Linked DNA regions of Homo sapiens: region 1 is linked to region 2. The links are contacts of gene promoters, found by promoter capture Hi-C in blood cells and fetal thymus (Javierre and others, 2016). All regions are on one chromosome and are shown on one strand. The core of a region is centred on a gene start or on the middle of the fragment in contact, and the rest is flanking DNA. Distances in the headings are between cores, read along the strand shown.

Region 1 (6,994 bases), core at 4,189-6,688, 610 kb after region 2:
TGCAGCCAGGGGGTCTTGTACAAATGTGCACAGGCATTAATCAGTAATCGCCATGAGCAGGCTGGGACTTCAACTCCACTTACCAAGTTAAACAGCTACAAATTAAAGAGCTAAGAGACGCTTTTAATATTTAACCTGGGCCTTGACTACAGCACTCTATTCCTTTGAGCTGATTAATTGACTGGTTGGTTCTCAGCTCTCTAATGAGAAGAAGGAACTTAAGCATCTTCCCAGGTGTCTGGGACCATGGGATGTTCGTGTGCAGAGGTGACCACCCCCACCAGGCAGCTTCCACATTAGAGAAGTTGATATTCACAGTGGGGGGTTTGAGCTTAAAGTTGGACATTTTATGTTTGTTGCACACTCTTTTTAGCCAACAGTATTTAAAGGTTAACCTCTGTAATAAATATTACACGTTAATGGTCAAATTTACACAGACTCAATTCCCTTTCCCAGCACTGCCCTCCCTCTCCCCTCAAACCTTGTCCTCAGGATGATAAATGACCCCACCAAAGCCTAGGGTCCAAGTATGTTTTGAGTGGCCTCCAAATCTCACACTCAAAACTGTGGGTTCATGGACAGGGGAGTCAGCTCACAGATCACTTTGTGTAGCAGATTTGCAAGGAGAAGGAAGCTTACGTTCACTGAGGCCAGCGGCTGTGGACACTGTACTGGATCTTTCTCAGCTGCTGTGTGCATTGCCCCTGGAGACAGGACAGTCCCACACAAACATCGTCTTACTCAGTGGGCCAGGGATGGGCACCTGAACCTCAAGTAGCTCCAGTTCAAGGCGGCCAGCTTCCTGCCTGCTCAGCTAATCGAAGCCTGTCCACCCCACCCCACCCCACAAACCCACCACCCCCCGCCCCCCGGTCTAAATTCCTAGCCGGAGTAAAAATCCAATGGGAAAAGAGTCTTATACACATGGCAGCGGAGTGAAACCACATCAGCTACCTGGTCATTTTTTTTTCTTAAATATAAGCAGGAGTCAGTGGGGGATGATGCCCTTGTCCCATGTAAAGATCTTAATCGCTCCTTAGGTCCGATGCCCACTTCTCACTCCCATCTCCTTTTATACCCGCTGACTGTGTCCCGGAGTCTCATCTGTCAGTCCATTGACCCCGTTTCCTCTCCAGCGTCTGTCATCATGGCATAGACTGCAATTGCTCAGCCTGTGTCATCTGGCAGCTCTCTACTGTCAGTTTTCCATCTTTCAGAAATGCGTTGAAACCTCTCCTTTGTGATTTCCCTCCTTCTTACAACTCCTCCTCTATCCCTTTTTCTTTTATCTTAATTCCAGCAAAGTCGCAAGTACCAAGAGAAGGCAACTCTGCACCCGGTCTGCTGTTTTGAGCCAGAAGCCATGAGATGCCTCTAAACGAGAACTGCTCTAGTCATGGAAAGTATGCATCGTAAATTCCAGTGCTAAACCTTTTGTTTAGATGGGGTACAAGTCATTGTCATTTTACTGTCAGAATTTTTTACAGTGTTATAGAACGCACCAAATCAGCCATGACCTGGACCTGCCAACCCTAAGGACCTCATGTATCTTATTTCTGAGTAAATATTGAAAAAAGTTCTGTAACTCATTAATTGTCCTTAATGAATAATGGTGATTCACCCTTATATTTTGTTTTCCCCTCTTGATGCCGAAACCATGAAACCAAATACAAAAGCTTGGACACTTTGGTAAAAGACAATAGCAATTATGTGGGCTGCTGCTGTCCAAACATATCAGCATTCGTTAATAGCACTGTGGCTCTCTCAAGTTACCGATTAAGCATTAAAAATAGAAACATGGCTTGCTTATGTTTCAAATGCCGTCTCATTTATCACCCAAATGCAAATATTATCTGTCTGCATATTCATAAGAACCAGCACCTGCACAACACATCTTTCTTACGTAACGGCTTGGGAGTGCCATGATTGGTGGGAAACTGCAGGATATCTGAGCAGGGAGAGTAGATCTGCGAGTCCTGAAGCAGGGGCCCTGGAGTGGGGTTTTGAAAGGTGGGTTGGTTTGGCAGGCTATTGTAATGACTGGTCCATGAGTCGTGGTGGGAGGAACTGGCTTCATCTGCAGTAGATGCCTGGCTACTCCTGAAACCAAGGAAAACATCGTTCGGGCGCCCGAGTCCTTCCGAAAAGTATCACCAACTGTAGTCCTCTTCCAGGGTTTAATTTGTTTAAGGAAAGGAAGTTCTATTTTCCCAGAGTTAAGCAGAGAGTTCCCAAACTGGGCTTCACCTTCCACCCACCATCACCAGCACCCACGAGCACTATCACCGCATAAAAGAATCCTTCAGCTGCAGGTGTGACTGCCAGATATTTTCTTAAGAAGGATTACACCCCATTTCAGTTCTCCAATATTCCTGAGACGTTGCTAACTCTTTCGGACAAAAATTCTAGAGACGATCTTAGGGACATTAGTCATGCGGAAAGCTTTTAGGTTGTTTGCTTATTATGGGAAGCTTCTAATAAAATCAATCTGAGTTTTCAGCATATTTGATGGAAGCCAGGTCTACAAATGTAGCAGATTTTAAAATGTTCTCTCAAAGTGGAAAGAATGCTGGCTCTGGCATTCCTCCCGCTGAAGCGGAGCTAATGACAAGTTTTGGGAAACAGTGTTGGAATCAAGAGTGGCCAGAAAAATTGGTTGCCCTGGGAGGTGAACACAGGGAGCTGTGGATGTATTTAAACATGAGTCACATGACTAGCTTCTATTTAGGCAGAAGCAAAACATGTTTTCCTTTAAATCATTAAACTGAGTGAACTCAAGAAAAATCTCGTTTGCCTCTAAGTGTTGTTGTTCTTTGGGGTTTAAAGAGTTTCAAGATGAGATTTGTTTTCTTAAAAACTTATATCAATAGCTTCCAAACGAGACACATCTGTAGACTTAGCGCACCCAAATGACATCTGTGTTTGGCCCCACATCCTACACCTGGATGGTTAAGATGGCACATCAAAAAAAAGGGGGGGAGAGGCCAGGCACGGTAGCTTACGCCTGTAATCCCAGCACTTAGGGAGGCCAAGGCAGGTGGATTACCTGAGGTCAGGAGTTCAAAACCAGCCTGGCGAACATGGTGAAACCCTGTCTCTACTAAAAATACAAAAATTAGCCGGATGTGGTGGTGCGTGCCTGTAATCCCAGCTGCTCAGGAGCCTGAAGCAGAAGAATCACTTGAACCCGGGAGGCGGAGGTTGCAGTGAGCAGAGATCCGGCCACTGCACTACAGCCTGTGCAACAGAGCGAGACTCCGTCTCAAAAAAAAGGCAGGGGGGATCATAAATACTTCCCTTTAAAAAATTTTTTTTCTTTTCTTTTTGCTTTTTCTTTATTGTTTGTTGTTGTTGTTGTTTGTTTTGTTTTTTTTTTTTTTTGAGACGGAGTCTCTTTGGTTGCCCAGGCTGGAGTACAGTGGTGCGATCTCGGCTCACTGCAACCTCCGCCTAACGGGTTCAAGTGACTCCTGCCTCAGGCTCCCGAGCAGCTAGGACTACAGGTGCCCTTCACCATGCCCGGCTAATTTTTGTATTTGTAGTAGAGACAGGGTTTCATCCTATTGGCCAGGCTGGTCTCGAACTCCTGACCTGAAGTGATCCGCTCGCATCAGCCTCCTAAAGTGCTGGGATTACAGCCTCATTTTTTTTCTCTTCTTTTTCTTTTCCCTCTCTGTCTCACCTCTCTTCTCTCTCTCTTTTCTTTTCTTTCTTTCTTTTTTTTTTTTTGAGACAGAGTCCAGCTCTGTTGCCCAGGCTGGAGTGCAGTGGCGTGATCTCGGCTCACTGCAACCTCCACCTCCTGGGTTCAAGTGAGCATGCCCAGCTAATTTTTGTATTTTTAGTAGAGACAGTTTCACCATGTTGGCCAGGCTGGTCTCAAACTCCTCACCTAAAGTGATCTGCTCGCCTCAACCTCTGAAAGTGTTGGGATTACAGGCATGAGCCACCACGTCCAGCTAGATTATAAATACTTTCTTGTTCTTTTTTTTTTTTTTTTTTTTGAGACGAGCCTCACTCTGTCGCCCAGGCTGGAGTGCAGTGGCGCGATCTCGGCTCACTGCAACCTCCACCTCCCGGGTTCACGCCATTCTCCTGCCTCAGTCTCCTGAGTAGCTGGGACTACAGGCGCCCGCCACCACGCCCGGCTAATTTTTTGTATTTTTAGTAGAGACGGTGTTTCACCGTGTTAGCCAGGATGGTCTCGGTCTCTTGACCTCGTGATCCACCTGCCTCGGCTTCCCAAAGTGCTGGGATTACGGGCGTGAGCCACCGCGCCCGGCCTCTTGTTCTCTCTTAATAATAAAAATAAATGGATGTGAATCTGAGTCCCATTTTTATTCCATTTTCTTAGGCATATGTTTTTTAATGTCTACTCCTGAAGTGATAAAATAGTAGAATTTCAAGTCTGTGGTTGGGAAAGTTTAGCCGAAATTCCATTTTCACAATTATTCTGGAATCCAATCAATCAGGATAAAAGTTAATGTCAAGTCAAGATAGGTGAGTTAAACCCAGGACTTTTGAATTGCCCTGTCTTGGAAAGGCTGGAATTTAAAGTTGCAGGAGGTGGGCAAGGGAAGGAAGTAATCACATTTAAGTAAAACACAGAACCAACCAACAGGAAGGCTCGCTGGGTTTGAATTCGGCAGCTTTGGAGTGTTTTCTAGTCTGGGTTGTGGTTAGTTCACTTAAAAAGAAAAGCGGTTAAGGGAAAAAAAAAAAAAATCCGAGACCAAAAGCTAGACTTATGACCACCACCTAGGTATTTCCTTTTGCTTCTTTCCTGTGGCGGGGGGAGGGCGAGGTGGGGGTTGCTTTGCCTTTCTCCTTCATTTTCAAAGTTTTTCTTTCCCAAAAGTAGTGACTATTTGGAGGTTTTGATGAGGCTCAACCTTCACACATCCAGTCTCCGCTGGGGCAACAGAGGGAAGGAGAAGGCCGGAGGGGGCTGTTGGTGCCCGGAGGATCGCCCCTTCCCTCCCGGGGCGTCTCAGGCCTGGCGGACACTGAAAGGTCGGGGCGCACTGACGGCCGGACCTCGCGAACGCAGCGCGCGCAGCCCTCAGGGTCTTTCCCCCGCCCACCCCGCGCATCGCTAGGGGGCTCAGGCTTTGGGAAGTCCCCCCAAGCTCCCGCGGCCTCCCACGGGCCCGGCGAGCGTCGTCTGGGGAGCGTTTCCATAAATGAACAAACTCAGCCGGGCCCCCCGCAGGGTTCAGCAATTCCAGAAGGCCGGGACAGGGCTGACCCGACGGCGGGGAGCGAGGGGACCCGTGGGCGGGAGTGGGGGGACTGTAGGGGGAGACCCGGGAGGGGAGGCCGCGCCCGCACCCGGTGCTCCTCGCCGGGGTCTCGGGCCCGCCCCTCCCTAGGGCCGGTGTGCGCCCCCTCGGGACGCCTATGCAGCCCTGCCTCGCCCGCCCCTCCCCAGGCTCCGGCTCGCACCCCCGTCCTCCGGCCGCGACCCCCGCCCGGGAACCCTAGCCCCTGGCCGCGGTCGCTTCCCGGACCTCGCCCCGCGCCTCCCCCTGCAGCCCGCCCCGGCCGCACCCCCTAGCGTCCCCGCCCCCGGCCGCGCCCCCTCATGGGGGCCCCCTCGGCGGTCCGGGAGGCGGCGGGCGCGCCATGGGCAGCGGCAGCAGCCGGAGCAGCCGGACTCTGAGGCGGCGGCGCAGCCCCGAGAGCCTCCCCGCGGGGCCCGGAGCGGCAGCCCTGGAGGGCGGGACCCGCCGGCGGGTGCCGGTGGCGGCGGCCGAGGTCCCGGGGGCAGCCGCGGAGGAGGCGCCCGGCCGCGACCCCAGCCCCGTGGCGCCCCCCGACGGCAGGGACGAGACGCTGCGCCTGCTGGACGAGCTGCTGGCCGAGTCGGCGGCCTGGGGCCCCCCGGAGCCCGCCCCGCGCCGCCCAGCCCGGCTCCGACCCACCGCGGTCGCGGGGAGCGCGGTGAGTGTGGGAGCCGCAGGGCCTCGGGGGACGGCGGGGACCCCACTCACCGGCCGCGCGTCCCCGCCCCAGCCCTGGGCGCCGGTCGCGCTGCGCCCCCTTCCAGCCTCCGACTTGCGTGCTCCCCGCTGCCCCGGCCTCCCCGCCCCTGGGCCCCCAGGTTTCCTCCCTCTCTGCCCCGTCTCCGGGTCTGTGTCCAGGCGTGGGGGCGATCGCGCTGGGAGCGGCCGAGGAAGGACACCCCTAGGCGGAGCGCGCCGGGCTCCCGGCTCCCCTCGGGCCCGCGGCCCCGCCTGGCCTTCCCGGGCCGCCCTGGAGCGGGGCGCCGGCGGTGGTGGCACGGCAGCCAGACGGTGGCTCAGAAGCGCCCTGCCGCGCCCACCGGTCCAGATCCTTGCCTTGCTGGGCAGGCAATTCTCATGTTACTGATATTTTTAGGATGCTGCGGAATCTCTTTTGCGCTTCCTATTCTCTCTCCCTGAATACTCGTAATAACAGTCCTGCTGTTCTAAAAAAACAATAAAACAAGCACTCTGGTTTGGCAACCGTCTTCGCTCCAGCAGAGCTGAATGAACAAGATCTTTAACATCCGCTCCCGGGCTCGGGGAGGATGCCAAGGGCCTCGTCCTCCTCCCTGAGGCCCGGGAGGCTTTGCTTAGCAGCCGCTGGGAGCCGAGGAAGATGCCTTCCTGGGTGGCTACCGCACCAAGGAATCCTGAAAAGGCCCCAGGGAGGGTGGGGGAGAGGGACAGCCCCAGGCGACAGTGCACAGAGCTCTCTCCCTCTGGCCCTGGTTCCCTGCTCCTCTCCCTTACGGTCTTTAAAGAGGAAAAGCGAGCTGCAGTGAGTAGGGCTGAATTATATAACAAGATTCCTTTAATACCACATCAGCCTGCAGTTATATAACACTGCCTGGACAAATAGCTGAGAAATTTGGGAGGAATTCACACATAGCAAGGAGGCAGTTAATTTTAGTGTTCATTTTCAAGTGCTTTGGAAACTCGGAGGTGAAAATGAGAGGCAAATAGCAAGAGTGAATGTTGTGCCCTCT
Region 2 (7,515 bases), core at 1,410-3,909:
ATGCTCCAAAATCTGAAACTTTCTGAATGTCAATGTGATGCTCAAAAGGAAATGCTCACTGGAGCATTTCGGACTTGAAATGTTTGGATTAGGGATGCTTAACTGGTAGACCCATCTCTATAAAAACAAAACAGCCAGCTCTGGTGGTGTGCCTGTACTCCCAGCTACTCAGGAGGATAAGGTGGAAGGACAGCTTGAGCTCGAGTTTGAGGCTGCAGTGGGTCATGATCATGCCACTGTATTCCAACCTGGACAACAAAGTGAGATGCCCCCATGGAAAAAACCCACAACGCCAACAGAAAGTAGATTAGTGGTTGTCTAGGGCTTGGGTGGGGGATGGGGCATGGAGTGAATGCTAATTGAGGCTGGGGTTTCTTTTTGTTCTAAAAATGATTGTGGTGATGGTTGCAGAACTCTGAATACACTAGAAGTCATTACATTGTACATTCAATGGGGACATTTTACAGTATGTTAATTATATCTCAATAAAACTGTTAAAAAGGAAATGTTAATGGAATTTGGATACATTTCCACTTATTTGGTATATGGCTTTATTTTCAGTTTTATTTTACAAACACTTACATGGTCTTACTATGTGCCAAGTACTGGGTTCCAAACGTTTTATAAATATGAATGTATTTCATCCTCATAACTCTGTGAAGTGGATACTACTGTTATCTCCATTTTACACAGGTACAGAGAGGTTAGGTAACTTACCTAAGGTCTTTCAGTTAAAAATGGCAGTCGGGATTTGAATCTTGCCAGTCTGGCTTCAGAGTCTGTGATCTTTATTTATTTTTCAAGAGATAGGGTCTTGCTGTGTTGCCCAAGCTGGAGTACAGTGTTAGTCACAGGCATGATCCCATTACTGGTGAGCATGGGAGTTTTGACTTGCTCCATTTCTGACCTGAGCCGCTTCACACCTCCTTAGGTAACATGGTGGTCCCTGGCTCTTGTGGGGTCACCATATTGATGCCAAACTGAGGACACCCAACGCTCGTTGCGTGCTACAGCCAAGAACTCCTGGGCTCAAGTGATTCTCCTGCTTCGGCTTCACTAGTAGCTAGGACAATAGGCCTGCACCACCAAGCCAAGCCAGAGTCTGTGATCTAACCATTCTATTATGCCACCTTTCCCAAAGATGTTTACAGTTTTTCTTAACTGTAACCAGTGTAGAAAATTAAAAATTTGTGGAGGATCTTAAATTTGAGGACAGAGTTAAGGAATATATCCCTACGTACATGGCTAAATGTAAATATGTAGCAATGCCTAATAGAGGCCAGGCACTGTTCTGGTACTCTGGGTAGGGGTGGATGGGGTGGATAGGGAATATAAGGACAAATGATATAGGGTCCACGAAGAACTCTCAACCTAATTCTGATGCAATGTGGTGTTGGTATTTGAGAGTTTCCAAAATGTTGTGGGTAGGAGAGCAAAACAATAATATTTGGGTTTTAGAAAGTAAGGCATAAAATAATTTGTTCATTAAATCAAAGGAAGTAAGAAGATCACTTGGGAAAGTTATAATCCAAAAATAGTTAAGTATTTGAGTTTCAGCAGGAGGAATGAAAACAGATTACTTTAAGGAAATATTTCATAATTAGAAATATCCAGGTTTAGATACTGAAAGTGAGGGCCAGAGATAGGAATGGGTTGAAGATGACGCCACAGTCTTCTTTTTTTTTTTTTTTTTTTTTTGAGACGGAGTCTCACTCTGTTGCCCAGGCTGGACTGCAGTGGCACGATCTCAGCTGACGGCAACCTCTGCCTCCCGGGTTCAGGCGATTCCCCCACCTCAGCCTTCAGAGTAGCTGAGATTACAGGCGCGCGCCACCAGGCCCGACTGATTTTTGTATTTTTAGTAGAGACGGGGTTTCACCATCTTGGCTAGGCTGGTCTTGAACTCCTGACCTCAGGTGATCCGCCCGCCTCGGCCTCCCAAAGTGTTAGGATTACAGGCGTGAGCCACCGCACCCGGCCTACAGTACTTCTAACGTAACATCGCAGAAACACTGGAGGAGAGAAGAGAATACACTTCCACTCGGAATTCGCACCCTGGTCGCCTTCATTCGCTGGGTTCACTCGCTGAACTGCCTCGCCCCCGCCCGGGAGGATGACATCTCGGCCTGGGCAGAGACTCGAAAGCCTCCTCCTGCCGCTCGGGATGCTAACAGCAGGGAGAGCTGTGTCTAGTTTTTTTTTTTTTTTTTTTTTTTTTGAGAGGGAATCTCGCTCTGTCCCCCAGGCTGGAGTGCAGCGGCGCGATCTCAGCTCACTGCAACCTCCGCCTCCCAGGTTCAAGCAATTCTCCTGCCTCAACCTCCCGTGTAGCTGGGACTACAGATGCCGGCCACCACGCAAGGCTAATTTTTTTGTATTTTTAGTAGAGACGGGGTTTCACCATATTGGTCAGGCTGGTCTCGAACTCCCGACCTCAGGTGATCCGCCCGCCTCAGCCTCCCAAAGTGCTGGGATTACAGGCGTGAGCCACCGCGCCCGGCTTGTGTCTAGTCTTGCCCGTAGCAGCGTCGCCGACAGCCACGCCGGGTTGTCAGAGCCTCACTAGTTTTTCTCCCGGCCGCCGCTCTTCCCGGATTCAGCCACCTTCCCTCTTCCGGGAACTTGCCCGCGTGTTCCGGCTCCAGGAAGTGCGTCATCAGTCGGCGCCAGCGGCCGCACGCCGCGGAGCAGGGGCTCGGAGGTCCCGGGATTACGGTGCTCGAGCACGCTGGTGGGAAAGGACCCGGGACTTGAACAGTGTTGTGCGGCGCCATGCAGGTCTCCAGCCTCAATGAGGTGAAGATTTACAGCCTCAGCTGCGGCAAGTCCCTTCCTGAGGTGAGTCACTTCCCGGCCCCCTCACTCTCGAGCTCTTGGGGGTCGTCCTCCTCGTGGGGCAGCCGCCCCTCTCCTCGGCCCTAGCCTCTGTTTTAGCTGGACGCTGGTCACCCCCCGACTCGGGGAGGCCCAGAGGCGGCTGACAATTTCCGGGGGAGGTGTCGGCATTGGGAGACAAGGACACTGCCGTCACCGCGCCAGAAACTGGACCAAGGGATAATCAGGGTCAGTGAGCTTTGCTGGAACTTTTGTAAAGTTCTCTGTTCCAGAGAACGCAACCATTTGGGCCTCTTTGGGTGTTCACAGTCCCTGCCGTACATCGAGGAGGAAAACGTGGCAGATTCGTTGACACATCTCTCCCCCATATGGCCATCAGCTGTTTGTGGAGTCCCTATCATTTGCCAGGTCTTAGGGATACAACAGTGAACAAGGGAGATACAGACTTCGCATCTGCAGAATTTATGGTGTAGAGGACAGTATTTTCGAGACTTGTTGAACTTAACCTGATTCCTAGTCTTAAAGTTGGAGAGGGCTTGGACAAGTCGGTAATTCTCTTCCAATCTTCTCGTGTTTAGTAATGCAGCTGAGATTTAATAATGCGTTTAATATGCAGCTGAGATCCAGCAAGGGGAAGGGTGACTTGTCCAGCATGACACACTTAGGCTCTGAAACTTGTCTTTTGTTTCTTATACGTGATGATCCAGCCTCTGTCCAAGCACTACCACTGAGCACTACCTTTTGTGGAAGCTCATTTCCATTTTGAGACTCTGCACTTGTTAGAAAGTGGTTTTCAAATATGTCACCTTATAGCATGCCACTGTTGGCCTGAGTCCTGCCCTTGGAAAACAGAATAAATATAGCTCTCCTTCCATGCGTCTGCTTCTACAAAAATTTGGAGCCAGTGCTTAGGTTTTTCCTTTCTTCCTAAAATTCTGGTTTGAATAATTCCCTGTCTTCCAGTTGTTCTTCACACCCCATGAGCTTTCTCATTTTGTTCATTCATTCTCCACATGTATTGAGAAGTTACTGTGTGCAAGCAACTCTGTTTTAAGTATTGGGATCTATAGTGGACATTTCAGATAAGGTTCCCTGTTGGGGAAAAGGGAAATAAACAAGTGAGCAAATAAGGCAATTTAAGGTAGTCAAAAAGTACTTTTCGTGGTGAATGATTAGAAGAGAGCTGTTTTGGATAAAATATTGAGAGAAAGTGTTTTGGATAAAACCTTCGGGGAAGGCCTCTCTACAAGAGGTGACATATGAGCAGAAACTTGGATGATGAAGAGGAGCCAGTCGTGTGAAGATGTGGGGAAGAGTTTTCAGTGCTGAGAACAGAAAGTGCAAAAGCCCCACATGGGAATGCACTGGACATGTAGGAGGACGGAAGAGGCACAGGTGTGATTGCACTATGCTGAGTGAGGGGGCGAGAGCAGGGTGGATGAGGCTGGAGAGGTAGGCCTGGTAGGAAAGGTAGGAAGTTCAAGTTTTATTCTTAGTGCTGCTGGAAGTCACTGTTGTGTGGGCTGCTGTGCGACAAATGTCTAGCTGGGGAGGGTTCAAGTCGGGATGAATTAGGTAGTCCAGGTGAGCGACTTCGGTGGCTTGGGCTTGCCTGGTAACAAAGAAGATGCTAAAACACAGTGAGATTCAGGACATACTTTGTAGATAGGGTAATGGAACTTGCTAATGGATTGGACTGTTGGTAGAGGGAAGTTGAGGTGACAAAAAGGAAGGAATCAGAGAACTCTTCAGTTTTGAGTCTGAACAAGTGGGTGCACGGTGGTGCTGCTAACTGACATGGAGAAGAATCAAGAAGGAACACATTGAAAGGTGGAGAGGAGGAACGTAGTGAGCAAAAAGAATCAAGATTTTTTTTTGAGGTCGCGTGCAATGGCCTGATGTTGGCTCACTGCAACCTCTCGGGTTCAAGCGATTCTCCTGCCTCAGCCTCCCCAGTAGCTGGGACTACAGGCACGTGCCACCACACCAGCTAATTTTTGTATTTTTAGTAGAGACGGAGTTTCACTATGTTGGCCGGTATGGTCTCGATCTGATCTTGTGATCCACCCACCTCGGCCTCCCAAAGTGCTGGGATTACAGGCATGAGCCACTGCACCCGGCCCAAGGTTTTTATTTTCAATAGTGAACATTTGAAGTTCTAATACATACCAAATGGAGATGTTGAGTAGTTAGCAGTTGCATGGATACTAGGATGGAGATTGCAGGTGAATTTACTGTCGTTATTTGGGACTAGGTGAGATCAAATTGTGAGAGAAAGAACAGAGAAGATAACTAGGCTGAGGACCTGAGGCAGTCTTAGCATTTGTCATCCAAGAAGAGGAGGGGAACCCAGCAAAGAAGAAAGAGTAGTGGGCACTGATGGAAGGGGAGACTGGGAAATGTGTAGTTTTGTAGAAGTAAGTGTTTCAAGGAGGAGGTGGTGGTCACCTGTGTCAGCTGCTACTGAGAGCTTCAGTAAGATGAAGGCAGAAAAATGACCATCGACTTTGGCATGATGCAGAGCGCCCTTGACCTTGGCAAGGAGCTCCAGTGGAGTGGTGGGGAGGGTAGCTTGAGCTGAGTGGATTTGGAAACCCCTGCTTGTCCTGTTTAATATTTTCTGGTTATTTCTTTGAGGTGTGGTGCCTAAACTACACGTGGAACCCCAGTTGTTGTCTGATCTGTGCAAATATTGCTTCTCTCCTTCTGGGCTTTACCTTTTTATTAATGTAGAGAAGCCTCTACGTTTACTCCCCTGGTGATCCTAGGCAGTCTCCTGGCTTTAAGCACATCTGCATATCGATAACTATCACATTGATGTTTCTAGCCCTTACCTCTACTCTGAACTGGACTTGTGTATCCAACTGTTTCTTGACATCCCCGCTTGGATGTCTGATAGGCATCTCAAACTTAACTTGTCCAAAGTAGAACACCAGCTTTCCCCCCACATTTCCCCCTCCTGCAACCTAGTGGTCTTCCCTCCCTCAGCCAGTGGCAACTCCATCCCGCAAGCTGTTGATGCCAAAAACACTGGAGGCTTTTTGTTGTTGTTTCTTTGCTCTCATACAATCCACTAGAAAATGCTGTTGCTTCTATCTTCAGTATAGATCCAGAATCCAGTCACCTCCATTACTGTCACTGATTCAAGACACTGTCACCCCTGACTATGCAATTGCAGTTATTGCAGTTGACTTCTAAGCAGTTTCTCAGTTTCCACCCTCTACCCCTTTATTCCACAGTCTGTTATCAGTAAGCTGCCAGGGTGATCCTCTACTCAGAACTGTCCAGTGGCTCCTGCTCTCTTGGGGGTGAAAAGCAGAGTCCTTTGAGTGACTTTTAAGGTCCTACTTGATGTTGTGCCTTCCTGCCCTCCTCTCTGAGCTCAGCGGTCACTGTTCTCCACCTTACACTGGCCTCACAAGTCTCACTGCTCGAGACCAGGCACACTCCTGCCGTAGGACCTTGGCACAGGTCCTGCCTGCCTGCTTTTTTCCCAGATGTTCTCCAGGCTTTGCCTCCTCATGCCTTTCAGGTCGTTGCTCAAGAGGACCTTAACCTTATTCAAAATTATAATTCTCCACCAACACTTCGTCTCCTTTTCTTGCTTTATTTTTTCCATGGCATACATAACCATCTGACATTCTAATTGTTTTACTTCCTTATTTGTTGGTGTTCCCTCACTTGAAAGAAAGCTTCATGAAAGGAGGGGTTTTTAGATTTTTAAATTTTTTTTTTTTTTGAAACAGGTTTACTCTGTTGCCCAGGCTGGAGTGCAGTGGCACAATCATGGCTCACCTCAGCCTTGACTTCTCTGGGCTCAATGATTCTTGCACCTCAGCCTACTGAGTAGCTGGGACTACAGGTGTGTACCAACATGCCCAGCTGCTTTTTTTTTTTTGTAGAGACAGTGATCCCACTTTATTGCCAGGCTGGTCTCGAACTCCTGGGCTCAAGTGATCCCCTTGCCTCAGTGCTGGGATTATAGATATGAACCACTGCACTTGGCCAAGAGGGCTTTTTTTTCCCTCCTGTTTTATTTACTACTGCTATACCTAATTACTGGCATTTAGTAGTACTAAATAAATATTTGTTTAATGTATTGATGAATAAAGTTAATTTTCATTTTCAGCTCCATCACACTTTTGACTTGGGGCTACGATTTTTATTCACACAATTTGACCTACAGTCTCCCATTCTGGAGTTAATCAGCTTTTGTTGTATTTTTAATGCCGTTAAATTTATTTTCGTTAGTTTTCTAGTGGTTAAGCCTGTTTTTTTCTTTTTTTTTGGCGGGGGGGGGGGGGGGGGGGACGGAGTCTCTCTCAGTCACCAGGCCGGAGTGTAGTGGGAAGATCTCAGCTCCCTGCAACCTCCGCCTCCCGGGTTCAAGTGATTCCCCTTCCTCAGCCTCCCGAGTAGCTGGGATTACAGGTGCCCACCACCACACCTAGCTAATTTTTTGTATTTTGGTAGAGACGGGGTTTCACCATGTTGGCCAGGCTGGTCTCAATCGGCCTCCCAAAATGCTGGGATTATAGGCGTGAGCCACCATGCCTGGCCAAGTATCAGCTATTTGGTCAGTTATTTATCTGGTTTTATTCCTTGTAAAAAATATATTTCTATAAGAAACATTCTCCTATAAATGTTTTACTTTTTAAATTCTCACTTAAATAGATTAAA

Evidence for each region. Contacts are between HindIII fragments. The CHiCAGO score rates a contact against its expected background, and 5 or more counts as called.
Region 1: the fragment with the promoter of CYS1 here is called in contact with the fragment with the promoter of NOL10 in region 2 in 8 of 17 cell types (fetal thymus, naive B cells, activated CD4 T cells and 5 more); the score reaches 14.8 in fetal thymus.

Annotation. Positions count from the first base shown.
Region 1 is chr2:10,078,855-10,085,848 of GRCh38, reverse strand. CYS1 (cystin 1) reads left to right here and starts at 5,438. Exons shown (of 3, transcript NM_001037160.3): 1 at 5,438-5,943. The coding sequence starts at 5,626. RefSeq lists an enhancer at 2,820-2,879 and silencers at 5,124-5,363, 5,534-5,593, 5,654-5,893, 5,964-6,303. The HindIII fragment of the contact is 11,698 bases long and covers 2,474-6,994 here.
Region 2 is chr2:10,685,119-10,692,633 of GRCh38, reverse strand. NOL10 (nucleolar protein 10) reads left to right here and starts at 2,659. Exons shown (of 21, transcript NM_024894.4): 1 at 2,659-2,838. The coding sequence starts at 2,773. It also overlaps the pseudogene RN7SL832P. RefSeq lists enhancers at 2,813-3,092, 3,153-3,212. The HindIII fragment of the contact is 7,879 bases long and covers 1-6,529 here.